Regions from separate parts of the Homo sapiens genome. Here region 1 is linked to region 2. The links are contacts of gene promoters, found by promoter capture Hi-C in blood cells and fetal thymus (Javierre and others, 2016). All regions are on one chromosome and are shown on one strand. Each heading gives the region's core, a stretch centred on a gene start or on the middle of the fragment in contact. The rest is flanking DNA. Distances are from core to core; before and after follow the strand shown.

Region 1 (3,021 bases), core at 1-2,500, 200 kb after region 2:
AGTGCTGGGATTACAGGCATGAGCCACCGCACCTGACAAAATCTTAAAATATGATTCACGGGCTTAGCTGTGCCACTCCTTGGGCAGTCAGCTAACCTCTCTGAGCTTCAAATTACCTATCTATAAAATGAGACTAGTGGTAGACAAAGGGATAACAAACCTTTCCCCTTCCTACTTGAGAATTTGAACTTCAGTTAAATGCCCACCTGTTCCCCTAAACACCTGATAAGAACTATCTTTATAGGCAACATTGGTTATGATATAAATCCTGTTTGATAAATTACATTGGGACTGAGAAGAGCTATAAGTGAAATATAAATACTTGATAGGGACACCATAGTTTGGGCCTCCCTGGATACTGTAACTTATAACAGGCAGGCCCTTTGTGGACCCTAGAATTGTGTCTATGGAGTTTTTATAAGAGATATTAGTTCCTGTAAAGCATAAATTCACCCAGTGAATAAACAACATGCTCCTGTGCTGTCCCCAAGACTCTGTGGAATGCTCAAGACAGCCTCAAGAACTGCAGCCAAAGCCAGGTGTGGTGGCTCACACTTGTAATTCCAGCACTTTGGAAGGCCAAGGCAGGTGGATCACCTGAAGTCAAGGGTTCAAGACCAGCCTGGCCAACATGGTGAAACCTCATCTCTACCAAAAATACAAAAATTAGCCAGGCGTGGTGACAGGTGCCTGTAGTCCCAGATACTCGGAAGGCTGAGGCAGAAGAATCGCCTGAACCCAGGAAGCAGAAGTTGCAGTGAGCCAAGATTGTGCCATTGTACTCCAGCCTGGGCAACAGAGCAAAAACTCTATCTCAAAAAAAAAACAAAAACAAAAACAAAAAAACTCCAGCCAACAGGGATGCCTGATGCTGCTGCCCTGTTGACAAACTATGCTCCTGTCCCATATTCTTCTGGTGCCATGCATGGCCCATGACAGTCTTATGAACCTTACTGTTTAGTTGAACCAAAAAAGACTCCCTAGTGAGCTCTACAATGATACCTACCTTGCCTAATTCAACCAAGGTTGAAAGATAACAAGATAATGTAAAAACACTATATTATAAAGCACTACCTAAATATAATTGTTCTTACAAATATAAAGGCTCAGCTGGGGGCGGTGGCACACGTCTGTAATCCCAGCACTTTGGGAGGCTGAGGCAGGTGGATCACAAGGTCAGGAGATCGAGACCATCCTGGCTAACACGGTGAAATCCCATCTCTACTAAGAATACTAAAAATTAGCTGGGTGCCTGTAGTCCCAGCTACTCGGGAGGCTGAGGCAGGAGAATGGTGTGAACCCAGGAGGCGGAGCTTGCAGTGAGCTGAGATCACACCACTGCACTCCAGCCCAGGTGACAGAACAAGACTCCGTCTCAAAAAATATATAAAATAAATAAATATATATATATATATATATATATATATATATATATATATATATATATATATATATATGGGCTCATGGGGCAAATTGGTTGCTTTTAATCACTAAAACTAATGGTGTAGTTCACTGTAGCCTAGCTGGAAACATTCTTCTTCGGCTTAAATATAGCTGTTTAGAGGCCAGATGATAAAGGATTGGGAATTGGCATACCAGCACACAGGTGAGCTTTAACACCTTGAGCAGAAAATCCTGCCCATCTGAAGGGCTCAGCTAAACTGTAATTATATTACATAGCACTAAGCAACTGCAGCTGGGACTGAGGTTGGCCACCACATGGCTGTAGGAAGGAAGCTGTGTGTGAGAAAAGCAAAGGGGCTAGTACTCTCTTACCTGGCTCTTTTGATCACAGACAAGACCATCCAGGACTTGCCGGAGGTTCTACTGCCTGCCCTAGAGGCTGCTCTTTGTGACAAGAATGCCCATGTGCGGATGGCAGCAGCAATATGCCAATATGCCATACAGTCACATAATCCCCTTGCCCGGAACATCATGCAGACTGCCCTTCTGAAGGGTGAGTAACTCCCTGTTACTTCTGACCTGGAAATATGGGATAGACATCTCACTATCAGCTTTCCCAGTCCTTTCCTCTCCACTGTGATGCTCTGCAATGTCTGCTGTATTGGGTTTAGATTTATGTTAGACCATTTGAAAATTAGGACCAGACACTGTCGCTCACACCTGTAATCCCAGCACTTTGGGAGGCCAAGGCGACAGGATCACCTGAGCATAGGAGTTCTAAACCAGCCTGGGCAACATAACAAGACCCCATCTCTATAAAAAATTTTAAAATTAGCCAGGTGCGGTGGTGTGCTCCTGTAGACCCAGCTACCTAGGAGGCTGAGGCAGACCTATATATACATGCTTATCAGAGTCAGCTTGAGCCCAGGGGGTTGAAGCTGCAATAAGCCACAATGGTGCCACTGTACTCCAACCTGGGTGACAGAGCAAGACCCTGTCTCTAAAAAAAAGGAAAAAAAGAAAATTTGCTCTTTCTAGGTACTTTAACAAAACAGGTACACTGCCACCAAGTGGTAGCTGGACTAAATTTTTTTTTTTTTTTTTTTTTTTTTTGAGACAGAGTTTCACTCTCGTTGCCCAGGCTGGAGTGCAATGGTGGGATCTCAGCTCACACTGCAACCTCCGCCTCCTGGGTTCAAGCAATTCTCCTGCCTCGGCTTCCCAAGTAGCTGGGATTACAGGCGCATGCCACCACGCCTGGCTGATTTTTGTATTTTTAGTAGAGATGGGGTTTTACCATGTTGGCCAGGCTGGTCTTGAACTCCTGACCTTAGGTGATCCGCCCACCTTGGCCTCCCAAAATGTGAGGACTACAGGTGTTAGCCACCGTGCCCAGCCAATATGATTCTTCTCAATATGGTTTAAATAAGAAATTGTATTTCTAGACTGAGTGGGGCACAAGGAAGTGAGATATCAGGTGGGGTAGCAGCCTTGGGTATCAATCCAAAGGCTGTTCTCTAGGGGGAAAACACATCACCATTCTGAACTCTTTTTCACCCAACTGTGGCAGGTAACAGTGTGGATAGCTGGGCTGCAGCTCAGTGCTTGGCTCTGGAA
Region 2 (3,089 bases), core at 1-2,500:
TTTACAGGAAGTAGGGATATTTTTATAAAACAATTGTGTCCTCCCCACATTTTGCTATGTTAATATTTGCTTCTAACAATTTGCAGCTGTTTCACTTTTTCCTCATTTGTCTCTAAGTTGAAGGCTTTGTTGGAGGGGACAGAGCACAGGAACAGCCTTGACAGTCTGTAATTATTGTACAGATATTTTAATAGCATATAAATAAGTATATTCCTTTTATTTTGAAACAAAAATGATCAGACACTGCCTTTTGTGTGTTTGCTGCCTGTGGCATCCTTTTTTAAAAAGACTGTTACATATTAAAATAGTGTACATATATAAATATTACCTCTTTTGCTGTACAGTTGTGATAGAGACTGAAGATTTTATTTTTTGTGTGCTTTTTATAAGAAAAAAATTAATACACTAAAGAATCTTGCTGATGTGATTGTAATGTACCTATGTAACTTATTTACTTTTGAATGTTCTTCTGTATCTTTAAACCTTTTATTAAATAAGGTTTTAAAAATTCAGAGTTGAATGCTTTGTTCTCTTGGGATTTTCACCATCTGGGGTTGATGTAAGTGCGCCTTGTCTTGCTTGCAGGGAGATTACTCGACATTTTTGAACCATAAGGATTCTCTTTTAGCAGCCTATTGTCAATGATGCCAGCCAGGAAAAGGAAAATAATACACTAATGTTTGCCTGGCTAAAAGATGACTCAGTAGACACAGACAGATTTTTACAAAATTTTAGACAAGAAAAAGTCTAAACTCAGTGTCTCACACAAATACACAGAAATGGCGCACTCCGACATTTTGGCTTCATTGGGATGAAATATGCAGGGTGCACAGTGTGGTCAGGGGCAACGGGAAGCCAGGGTTCTGAGGAGAGTATTTTCACGTGCAGGGTGGACTGGCTGAGCAACCCGAGTAGACAAGTCCACCATGAGGGATGCATTTCCAACAATATCATCTTAAATCCACTCCAGGATTGGGTTATTATTTTTAAAACACGGTGCTTAGTAGTAGTTGTTTACTGTTAAAATGCTAAATTATGAAAAAGGAAATGCGCCATCAGAGAAACAAATGCCCGAGCCCCTCGCTGGCTCCACGGCAACCGCTCGACCCCCGCGAGCCGCCGGAGCAGGCGTGCCTCGCGCCGGCTGGGACACCGTTGCCATGGAGACGCCCGAGCAGCTCCGCCGCGGGGGCGGGACGGGGCGGGGCGGGGCGGACGCCGCTCGCCGGCTGGCCCCATCCTCCACTGCAGCAGTAACGTCGCGGCGGGTTGCGGGTAGGACTGGACGCCAGAGCAGCCGCGCAGCGCCTGAACCGCTGCGGGCCGCCGCGGCCGCCCCTTCCCACCCTCGCCTCTGCTGTCTCCAGCCTCGCTTCTCCGACTTTCCTGCTCCTCTGCTGCCTTCGTTTCTGGTCCTCGGCCGTCCTCGCCGCCCGCCCAGAGGAGTCCCCGCGCCCGCCAAGAAGCCGCTTTCCGCTGGCCCGCAGCCGCCGCGACTTCGGCACAGTTTCTCCCTCTGGCTAGTCTCCCAAACGGCCGCTCCTCGCCCGCGGGAAGACCAGGCTGCGACCGCGAACGCCCGATCCTCTCCAGGAGCCGCAGCGAGCGCCCGGCGGCCACGCCCCGCGACCACACCCCGGCGGCTCTCGGCCCAGCGCGCCTGCCTTCGCCGCCCGCCGTCGCTCCTCGCCCGCTGCACGACGACGCGACGCCCCTGCTGCAGGCGGCGGACCCGACCGGACCCAGACCCAGACGCAAGATGGCGACGGCCGCGTGACTGCCTCAGCGTCCCCGAGCTCGGCTCCGAGTGCACCTACGGACTGACTGTGGGGGCAGAGAAGGGCGAGATCAGGACTCTGTCTTTGTTAATCGTGACTGCATGAAGGTCGCCTCCCTCGGGCCTACTTGGTGGGAGTGTCTGGTATTGTTCTAAGGCCAGGAGCACGGTGAGCCACAGTCTGTTGGTAGAATTTGGCGTCTTGATAGTTGAGAAAATGGCGATGACACTGTTGGAAGACTGGTGCCGGGGGATGGATGTGAACTCCCAGAGAGCTCTGTTAGTCTGGGGCATCCCAGTGAACTGTGATGAGGCTGAAATCGAAGAGACCCTCCAGGCTGCGATGCCCCAGGTCTCCTACCGAATGCTTGGGAGAATGTTCTGGAGGGAAGAAAATGCGAAAGCAGCCTTATTAGAGCTCACTGGCGCTGTAGATTACGCCGCGATCCCCAGGGAGATGCCGGGCAAAGGAGGGGTCTGGAAAGTGTTATTTAAGCCCCCAACTTCTGATGCTGAATTTTTAGAAAGATTGCACCTCTTCCTAGCTAGAGAGGGGTGGACCGTGCAAGATGTTGCCCGTGTCCTTGGGTTTCAGAACCCTACTCCGACCCCGGGCCCAGAGATGCCAGCAGAGATGCTAAACTATATTTTGGATAATGTTATTCAGCCTCTTGTTGAGTCCATATGGTACAAGAGGCTGACACTTTTCTCGGGGAGGGACATCCCAGGGCCTGGAGAGGAAACCTTTGATCCCTGGCTGGAGCACACTAATGAGGTCCTAGAGGAGTGGCAGGTGTCCGATGTAGAAAAGAGGCGGCGGTTGATGGAGAGTCTTAGAGGCCCCGCCGCTGATGTTATTCGCATCCTTAAGTCCAACAACCCCGCGATAACCACTGCCGAATGCCTGAAGGCGCTTGAGCAGGTGTTTGGGAGCGTTGAGAGCTCTAGGGATGCCCAGATCAAATTTCTGAACACTTATCAGAACCCGGGAGAAAAATTGTCTGCTTATGTCATTCGTCTGGAGCCTCTGCTACAGAAGGTGGTAGAGAAGGGGGCCATTGATAAAGATAATGTGAACCAGGCCCGCCTAGAGCAGGTCATTGCCGGGGCCAACCACAGCGGGGCCATCCGAAGGCAGCTGTGGCTTACCGGGGCTGGGGAAGGGCCAGCCCCAAACCTCTTTCAGTTGCTGGTGCAGATCCGTGAGGAGGAAGCCAAGGAGGAGGAGGAGGAGGCTGAGGCCACCCTTCTGCAGTTAGGCCTGGAAGGGCACTTCTGAGTGCCAGGAAAGGCAGCTTTAGTGCAGACCTAG

Evidence for each region. Contacts are between HindIII fragments. The CHiCAGO score rates a contact against its expected background, and 5 or more counts as called.
Region 1: a contact is called between a fragment that was not itself captured here and the fragment with the promoter of PNMA1 in region 2, in 4 of 17 cell types (M0 macrophages, M1 macrophages, M2 macrophages and 1 more). The highest score is 8.4, in M0 macrophages.

Annotation. Positions count from the first base shown.
Region 1 is chr14:73,508,248-73,511,268 of GRCh38, reverse strand. It overlaps HEATR4 (HEAT repeat containing 4), which reads left to right. Exons shown (of 18, transcript NM_001220484.1): 8 at 1,796-1,957; 9 at 2,975-3,021. It also overlaps a transcript of ACOT1 not described here. Among named protein-coding and RNA genes, the nearest start is that of RIOX1, 19 kb to the right of the region's middle. The HindIII fragment of the contact is 5,736 bases long and covers 1-3,021 here.
Region 2 is chr14:73,712,545-73,715,633 of GRCh38, reverse strand. PNMA1 (PNMA family member 1) reads left to right here and starts at 1,250. Exons shown (of 1, transcript NM_006029.5): 1 at 1,250-3,089. The coding sequence starts at 1,995. The coding sequence ends at 3,056. MIDEAS (mitotic deacetylase associated SANT domain protein) reads left to right here. Exons shown (of 13, transcript NM_001367710.1): 13 at 1-512. RefSeq lists enhancers at 785-854, 1,795-1,854 and silencers at 1,075-1,354, 1,535-1,704. The HindIII fragment of the contact is 4,676 bases long and covers 1-3,089 here.